Linked DNA regions of Homo sapiens: region 2 is linked to region 1. The links are contacts of gene promoters, found by promoter capture Hi-C in human tissues and cell types (Jung and others, 2019). All regions are on one chromosome and are shown on one strand. The core of a region is centred on a gene start or on the middle of the fragment in contact, and the rest is flanking DNA. Distances in the headings are between cores, read along the strand shown.

The links. The method cuts DNA at HindIII sites, captures the fragments that hold promoters and counts their contacts. A contact is called where the count stands out against the background at its distance.
Region 2: a contact is called between a fragment that was not itself captured here and the fragment with the promoter of USP36 in region 1, in 1 of the 25 tissues and cell types used here (aorta).

The regions. Positions count from the first base shown.
Region 1 is chr17:78,837,650-78,842,357 of GRCh38, reverse strand. USP36 (ubiquitin specific peptidase 36) reads left to right here and starts at 1,544. Exons shown (of 21, transcript NM_001385174.1): 1 at 1,544-1,622; 2 at 3,608-3,771. It overlaps LOC124904067 (a long non-coding RNA gene), which reads right to left and starts at 1,244. Exons shown (of 2, transcript XR_007065923.1): 1 at 1-1,244. RefSeq lists silencers at 1,057-1,156, 1,617-2,136 and enhancers at 1,277-1,466, 3,061-3,575, 3,576-4,090. The HindIII fragment of the contact is 7,372 bases long and covers 1-4,708 here.
Region 2 is chr17:78,316,772-78,321,167 of GRCh38, reverse strand. All of the region lies in intron 1 of LOC105371912 (a long non-coding RNA gene), which reads right to left. Among named protein-coding and RNA genes, the nearest start is that of LINC01993, 40 kb to the right of the region's middle. RefSeq lists enhancers at 3,346-3,640, 4,072-4,141. The HindIII fragment of the contact is 6,869 bases long and covers 1-4,396 here.

The DNA of each region.
Region 1 (4,708 bases), core at 295-2,794:
CCAAAGTGCTAGGATTACAGGCGTGAGCCACTGTGCCCTGCCTTTTTTTCTTTTCTTTTCTTTTCTTTTGAGACGGAGTCTCGCTCTGTCGCCCAGGCTGGAGTGCAGTGGCGACATCTCAGCTCGCTGCAACCTCCGCCTCCTAGGTTCAAGGGATTCTCGTGCCTCAGCCTCCTGAGTAGCTGGGATTACAGGCGCCCACCACCACACCCAGCTAATTTTTGTATGTTTAGTAGAGACGGGGTTTCACCATGTTGGCCATGCTGGTCTCGAACTCCTGACCTCAGGTGATCCGCCCACCTTGGCCTCCAAGTGTTGGGATTACAAGGGTGAGCCACCGCGCCCAGCCCAAGGATTCTTACAGATAGGGCATAGTCTCAGCATCAGACTAATATGGTTATCTTGTTTGCTTTTTTCAAAAAACACCAGCGCCCAGGTAATAAATACAAGGTGAATTTTGTTCCAAGTACATCTAGCCTCTCTCCCCATCTCCAGTCCCTGCTTTAGGATCCGTGGGGAGGGCATGGAAATTCGTTTTGGGTTGTTTACCTGTGACTTCACCCTACTCATCATTCCTACTTACATCAAAAAAGACACAGCAGATACGACTGTGTTTGCAAAGTTCTGCCTTTTGGATAAAGTAGTTTATGCCCATCCTGTGCTTCTCTGAGTTTCTGAGGTCAGGCCAGGAACCAACACTCTCAACCTGCCCAAGGGAATGGGGAGGAAGCCAGCGAAGTTGCCTCAGATCAAGAGGATTTTTAAAAATACTGCAAAAGAAATACGTGCTCACAAATACTCAGCTAAAACCTTCGCAGAGCTGTCAGAGGACAAAGCTTTTGGAGGGAGTGGGTGGAGCTAGAGATTGCACAGCCGCCACCAGCCTACAAAGGTCAAATCTCACACTCTCAGATCCCTAATTCCGAAGAGCCATTTCCTCGGCAGCCCCAGGCTTTGGCCGATCGCTCCCAGATCCCTCCCTCCCCAAACTGCAGGTGCTCCGCGTGTGGGAGTCACGGATGGCCCCAGAGCCCGGGACGTTAAGGCCGAGCGCCCGCGCCTCCGCTTCTCCACAGCCACCTGACGGCCAGGGGCAGGTGGGGGAGCCCAGCCTTCTCCCTGCCCGGGAGACAGCGCGGGAGGGCTGTTGCAGGGGTGGGCAAAGTCCCTCGAGTCCCCGTTCTGGGGCGGGGGCGCGCGCCACTGTCACACTTCAGGCGTCCGCCACGCCGCCAGGTGTGCTCGGCCGACCCGGAAGTAGCGGCACCTCTAGTGCGCTGCGGAGACGTCACCCTGCCGCGGCACAGGGGCGGGAGCGCCTGTGGCTCTGCGCACTTGCGTCATCACGTAGGCTGGCGGGGTCCCGTGATGGGGAGGTGACGTAGGCGACACGGAAGCGGCGGTGGGCGGGGACAGGGAGTTAGCGGAATCTAGCCCCGCCTCTTAAAGCCTCCCAACCCTTTCGGAGTTAGCGCAGCGCGAACGCTGGGTGCGGCGCCTTTAAGCGTCGCGGTGACACGTGTGTGAGGCGCCGGAGGCCCGGATGGTGCGCGTGCTGGGCCGCGGGCCGAAGGAGTCGCCAGGGCTGCGTAGGCTTGTGGCGCGCCCGCGGAGAGGCCGGGGTAGGCTGGGGTCGGGTCGGGGCGGTGCGCAGGCCTGGGGACGAGACCGGGGCGGGGGGTTCCGCGAGGCCTGGGGCGCGGGAAGGGCTGGCGGGCGCAGCCGGGACGCTCAGGGAGAACGTGGGCGCGGGTCCGCGCAGGGCTTCGGCCGTCCCCGAGGAGGACCCGGGATGCTCCGCCCGCTCGCGAGCTCGCTTCTCCAGAGCCCGGGTATTCCCGAGGAGGGTCCGGGGCCGGGCTGTCCTCGCCGGTCTCCGCCGTCCCCCGGGCTCCGGGCCGGTGATGGGGGTCGCCGGGGCCCGCTGTCTGTGCAGGATTCAGGTCAACTTCGGAGAGGTTGAAGTCGGAATCAGGGCGAGGGCGTCGCGTGCGGCCGCAGAGCTCAGCGGGGCGGGTGCGGCCCCGGGGCGGGCACCTTCCTCGTGGTTGCGGAGGAGGCCATGGAGCCCGGGGCGGGGTGCGGTTCCGATGCTGCTGCTTCTGGCGGGTGGCGTGGGGGTCCTGGGCCTGGGGCTGGAGTGGCGGCCGCCAAACCCAGACACACGAGAGGGGAGACTCCGCGCGCCCCCGTTTACGTAACGCTCGCCACGGAGCCATGCTCGGGGAGAGGTGCTCGGGTCGCTGTGTCCGCGGCCGGGCTCGGGGCAGGCGCTGCGGAGTCGCCCGGGAGGCCCCTGGAGCGCGGCGCTGGGCCCCGGGAGGCCGCTGCTTCCGTGGGCTCCTCTCCCCAGCACGTGGTTGACCCTGCGAGCGTCCGTTGCAGTTCATCCTGGAAAAGTGACTTTAGAAGGAGGAGGGAGCGGGAATGAGCCTAAATGGTGCTGGCTGGGGTTCGCGCAGGTGGAAATGTGGATGAGGCCTGTGCTGTCCTTGGACAAGAGAGAGCATCCTTCCTGAGTTGGGTAGAGTGTGGATGGTGTGTGCGTCGGAGGGATTGCTAGTGATTACAGGAACACTTGTCTCGGGCTCCTACACGTCAGAGAGCGAGCGAGCGTTGTTTAGGTTATTGCTTAATGTTTTAGGTGGAATTGGTGAAGTAGAGATTGACCTGTCCCACTTGAAAAATTGTGTTCAAAATCTCTGCATCTACATTAAGGAGTGGGTTAAGTTCAAAGTTACTTATCTCGAGTGAAACTGGGTTACATCTCCCAAGGTTCGTTTATCCCCTCCCTAAGTGGTTCTCAAGCGTTGGTTGTGCATGACAGAGTTCTCACCTTCCAGGGTAGATGTGAGTCCTAACCGAAAGCAGTGATATTGTGGGGAGTTTTTAATACGACTGGATGTCTTCACTTTGTAGATGGCTTTTATTCTGAGATCATTTCCTTACACATTTTTCGGGAGTTGGTATGCTTTTATTTATGGATGAAGTCATAGGTCTGAGATTTGCTGTAGAATTACCTGGGGATGGGAAGTGACTCAGGATGGGTCAGATGTAGTTACTGAGGCTGAATAAGGGGGGCTCATGTGCTCCCTGTGCGGTTCTCCATCTGTGTGTTTGAATGTTTTCACTGTAAACTGTTTTTACGAACCTTAATTTTATGTAATCATAGTGATCGTAGATGGTAATGAAAGAGAAAATCCACACTTAGCAAAGCAAAATTTTGGCAACTCCTATTACTCCCTGAGGTTTGTTGTTGTTGTTATTGAAGTTTTACTGGTTCATTAAATCCAAAACTTGGGGATTTATTACCTCTTACTCTTTGGAAATAAGATTAGACTGGAGCTGACTGGCAGGTGTTGGGGAGGTTTTCCTTCTCTGGGCTTGTCTGGGGTCAAGGTTAAGGTGTTCATATCGTGTGCATTACAACAACTGGTGATGAGGTAGTACGGTCCACCCGCCTCATCCTGAGTGCACGCGTGGATGCTCCTTGGACGGCTTTTTCGTGGTAGAGGGTTCCCGGTGCGCGCCGCATCCCTGGGAAGTAGCTGAAGAGAAGGCACAGGAAGAGTCGCCTCCACTGATGGTCTCCCTGTCCCTCCCACAGGCTCTGACGCCCGCTCTGCGGCTTCGGTGTTTGAACAGGCCACAGTCCAGGAGCGCTTACATTCAGGAGCTCCGCGTAGCACCTGCCCAACCAAACTCAGCCCTCCGTTAAGATCCTGGTTCCATGCCGCAGTAGGACAGCAGGCCCAAGTCTGCACATCCCAGGTGAGTCTGCGAGGCTTCTGTGTATTTTTTGATTCCGTTGAATTGTCTGCATGTGACGCAGCAGTGATTGTTCAGTTGGTGAGAAGTCTTTGATAATTCTCATGAGAAAAGGCTCTTTTATTTTCTCAAATCAGACAACTTATAATGCTTTTTTTTAAATAAGCTTCTGAAATTTCTTTACAGAAGTTTTTTGTTTTTTGTTTTTTTTTTTTTTTGAGACCAAGTCTTGCTCTGTTGCCCAGGCTGGAGTGCAGTGGCGCGATCTCGGCTCACTCCAACCTCTGCCTCCCGTGTTCAAGCAATTCTCTGCCTCAGCCTCCTGCGTAGCTGGGATTACAGGCGCCTGCCACCATGCCTGGCTAGTTTTTTTGTATTTTTAGTAGAGAAACATCTTCGCCAGGCTGGTCTTGAATTCCTGACCTCCTGATCCACCCGTCTCGGCCTCCCAAGTGCTGGGATTACAGGCGTGAGCCACGATTTTTTTTGTTTTAAAGATGGGGTCTCACGATGTTGCCCAGGCTGGACTGCACTGGCTATTCACAGGCGTAATCATAGCTCACTGCAGCCTCAGGCTCCTGCCCTCAAGTTATCCTCCCACCTCAGCCTCCCAAGCATCTGGGACGACAGGCCCAGGCCACTGCACCTGGCTTTTCTTTACAGAAGTTTTTGTAGAAAAAGATACTTGATCCATGTATAGAATTAGATGATCCACAGTGATAAATTTGAATGGCTTAATATGAGGTGCTGGAGGAAGTCCTTACTTTCACTAGAGCAGAATTTTGGGGCACACTTGACTTGTTGATTCTCTGAGGGCAGGCTGGGTACTGAATACCAGAGGAAGTCATCATTTTTCTGATGTGAGTGAGCAATTTAAGGGACATATTTTTGAAATTGTGACTCAGATAGTCTGTGCTGTGTTTGGGAAGGTTAAGTTGAG
Region 2 (4,396 bases), core at 1,629-4,128, 520 kb after region 1:
TGCCTGTAGTCCCAGCTACTTGGGAGGCTAGGGCCGGAGGATTGCTTGGGCCTGGGAGGTCAAGGCTGCAGTAAGACGTGGTCTGTCACTCCAGCCTGGGTGACGGAGTGAGACCCTGTCTCAAAACAAAACAAACTGTTGTTGAGCACCTAGGGTGCTAGGCGGCCTGCCAGAAGAGAGGCAGTACAGGTCTTATGGGGCATCTCACCTGGTCCGGGAAGGGAGGCTTCCGCTGAACCTTGAGAGAGTTCCCCAATGGAGCAGCCTAGTACAGGGGTCAGCAAACCTCCACCACTGCCCCCAGGCTAAATCCAACGTGCTGCCTGTTTTTGTTCAGCCCGCAAAAAATGGTTTTTACAGGCCTGGCGCGGTGGCTTACACCTGTAATCCCAGCACTTTGGGAGGCCGAGGTGGGTGGATCACGAGGTCAGGAGTTCAAAACCAGCCTGGCCAACATGGTGAAACCCCATCTCTATTCAAAAATATAAAAATTAGCCCGGCATCGTGGTGCGTGCCTGTAATCCCAGCTACTCGGGAGGCTGAGGCTGAGGCAGGAGAATGGCTTGACCCCGGGAGGTGGAAGTTGTGGTGAGCCGAGACTGTGCCACTGCACGCCAGCCTGGGCAACAGAGCAAGATTCCACTAAAAAAAAAATGGTTTTTACACGTTTTAGTTTCTTTTTTTTTTTTGAGACAGGGTCTCACTCTGTTGCCCAGGCTGGAGTGCAGTGGTGCGATCTCAGCTGACTGCAACCTCTGCCTCTGAGTCCAAGTGATTCTCATGCCTCAGTCTCCCAAGTAGCTGGGACTATAGGCGTGTGCCACCACATCTGGCTAATTTTTTTTCTATTTTTAGTAGAGACAGGGTTTCACCATGTTGGCCAGACTGGTCTCGAACTCCTGGCCTCAAATGATCTGCCCATCCCGGCCTCCCAAAGTGCTGGGATTACAGGTGTGAGCCACCGCACTCGGCCTACATGTTTTAATTTTAATTTTAATTATTTTTTTGAGACAGGTTCCCGCTCTGTTGCCCAGGCTGCAGCGCAGTGGTGTGATCATGGCTCACTGCTGCCTTGACCTCCTGGGCTCAAGGGGTCCTCTTGCCTCAGCCTCCTTGACTAGCTTGGACCACAGGTGTGCACCACCATGCCTGACTAATTTCTTCATTTTTTGTAAAGACGGAATCCCACTGTGTTTCCCAGGCTGATCTTGAACTCCTGGGCTCAAGTGATCCTCCCGCCTTGGCCTCCCAAAGTGCTGGGATTACAGACGTAAACCACTGTGCCTGGCTGGTTTTTACATTTTTAAGTGGTTGAAAAACCAAGCAAAAGAAAAAAGAATATTTCATGATGTGAAAATCACACGGAATTCAAGTTGCAGTGTGCGTACGCAGTTGTGTTGGAACACAGCCATACTCACTTGTTCGTGAGTGGTCCATGGCTGCTTCCTCACTAAGCAGAGGCTGAAATATTTACTACCTGGCCCTTTTCAGAGAAAGTTTGCTGCCCTCTGGCCTAGGGGAAGCACATGCAAAACCAGCGGGCAAAAGACTACAAGGTTCTGGGCATTGGCAGAAGCCGACTGCAGCTGGAGCAGAGAAGGGAAGGCAGGTGTTGGGAGCGGGCGGGACAGAGGCCACAGAGGCCACCAGCTCCTGACACCAAAGAGGGCCCTGCCATTCCCACCCAGGAGAGGGCAGAGGTCAAGCGGCGGGGGGTGGGCTCTGTCTAGTGGCCACCATCCAGGTGCCCTCCTGCCCAAGCCTCCCAGGCAAGCAGGGAGGAGAGAAGGGACTAGGGAGGAACAGAGAGCGCCCCAACTGTGTATCCACAGGGAGCAGCAGACAGCATGGAAGCCTCCAAATCAGGACACCCCGATCCTTCTCCATGGAAACTGGGGGATGCCTCTCTTCTGTGGGGCTTGACTACCCCTCCCTTGCCCCATGGAGCCAAGACAGGCTTGGGGCTCAGGGATCGGGGTTTGGGGAGGGGCTGCTGTCCTAACTCTAACCCCCCCCACACACTCCCCCGCTACATCCCCACCGCCTGCCACCAGCGAGGCCCGTGGGGTCCTCCCTCCACCTCTCTTCTGTGAAGAGAGCAGAGAGAGTGATGGAGTCTGGGGCGGGTCCACATCTGGCTGAGGGGTGCTGAGGTCACAGCTGGGACCCACATGGCCCTTTGGTGGGGAGAGGAGCTGCCACCAAGGAGGATGAGGAGCCAGAGAGCATTGTTGGGGCTCCTGTGGGAGGCTGGGACCATAGAATGCTCTCAGGGGACCCCTGGACACTTACGGGGCTGCCCAGGCGATCTCTCTGGGGGAAGGTCGTGCCCATTCCAATCCCAGCACACTTTGGTGGGATGACACATGCACACCCAACCCAGAGGGAGCTGCTAGGCTTCTCCCCTGGGTGAGGGTGGCGGTCGGGCTGGGGTCCCTCTCTACCTGGACGGATGCTTCTCTGAGATAGATTCCGGGGGTTGGTTTTTCTTTCCCGGCCTTTTCCTCACTCTGCCCAGATCTGCAAACCCGGAGCTGGGGCTGGTCTGCTCCTCATTTGTCTCTGAGTTCCCTTCCAGAGTCGGGTCCTTAGGCAGCTGCCTAAGGACTGGCCTCCCAGGGTCACCCTCTGATGCATCTGGGACCAGTTGGAGTGGCTCTGGAAATATCCCCCCTTCCTCAGTCATCTCCACACTCCCCAGAATTGGGGTGGAGTTTCAGAGGTGGGGTGGAGGTGCTGGTGGGAGTACGGAAGAAAAAGGAGGCTGGGAGCAGCCTCCACTGTCCTCCTCTCCGGCCCTAGCACGCACTGCTTGCACCTGTGTTGGGTGCCCCTGTCCGGAAGACAACACACGGAGGGCACCTGAGTGGATGCGGGAGGCCAGCTGGGCTTGCTCAGGTGGGAAGTCAGGGAATCTGGGGGAGGCTGCAGGCTAAGTGGTTCTGGGGTGGGTGACGTCGTGGGAAATGCGTGTCTATCCCTCTGCCGGGCACACAGAGAACAGACTCCTCCAGTGAGTCCAGCAGGGCAGGGTGTGCTTGCCAGAGCACAGGCCAAGCTTCCTGCCAGCCAGGACTGCAGAGGGTCCCCCTTCTTCCCTCTCTCCTCCTCACCACACCTGCAAAGTGTGGGACCTGCTAGCTCAGTCCTCATTCCTTCCCTCCTTTTTCTCTCCCTACCTGTCCACCTTCCCCTGGCCTGGTGCTGGGAGGTCCTCTTCAGCCAGGCTGAGGCTGGCAGCCTCGTCTCCAGCCCCCTCCTCTGGCAGCCACAGCTAACTCTTGGCTCACACACCCACCTGGCTCCTTCACCCAGGGGAGCCCCACCTCCCAGCCATCCCTGGGTCTAGGATCCAGAATGCTCAATCCTGGATGTCGCCTCACTTTGCATTGAACCTTCCAGCCAAGGTCCCCACCCTTGCCCTTCCCTGTTCCTCCCTCCCACTCTCTGAACTTCCTAAAGCCCCTCCCCTCCCTGCCTGCAAGTCACCTGACTGGGAGGCCAGCCCTACCCAGATTCCCCACCCCAACTCTCCCAGCTCTGAAAACAAGAAGTGCTGTCCCTGCACTGCAAACCCCCACCTGGTCCCGGTCCACACATTCCAGCCATGCCGCTCAGGCAGTCATGCTCCTATAAACACGTACACACTCACACACGTGCACACATACGCACATATGTACATGCACAGCGCACACATGCACAATCACACAGGTATGCGTGTGCATCTGTGCATACACGTGTGCGCCCTCGTGCACACGCATACATGTGCATATTCACATTCTCACACACACATGCACACTCACATGCACACACGCACACGCACTCTTGAACCACCTGAACAGTTTTACACCCCATGCTTCTTCCTCTCAGGCTTGCGAAGTGCTACTTCCTATATCTTAAATCCCCTCCAGGGACCTGCAATTATGACTTGGGGTCACCATTAGCTCACCCAAGGCTCCTTCCAGAGCAGAACCCCCACCCCACCCTTCAGATCAGTTATACTTCCCTGCTCCCAAGAACTGACATATACTTTAGAATATATATAGCTGAGCTTAAAAAAAAAAAAGAAAAAAGAAAAAACCCTATTACTGTCGGATATTGGTTAATGATTGGTGAGGGAGTTGGAGGGGGAGAAATCCCCGCCCACAAGGCTCAGTTTCACTGGGAAAGGGACTTTCCTTAGAAGGAACCAAGACGTCTTGTATCATCAGCTCTTAACGATTTGGGAAGGGAAGCTAAATAGCTCTTTCCTGTAATTCGAACAACTAAATTATTCATCGAGAGCTGCAGACAGAGATTGGACAGTGACCCGAGAGGCAGGAGACCCCAGCCCAGCCCCATGACCCAGGCACAGGGCCACCTCCCCGGCTCCTGAGGGGCCAGTGCCCGAATTAGA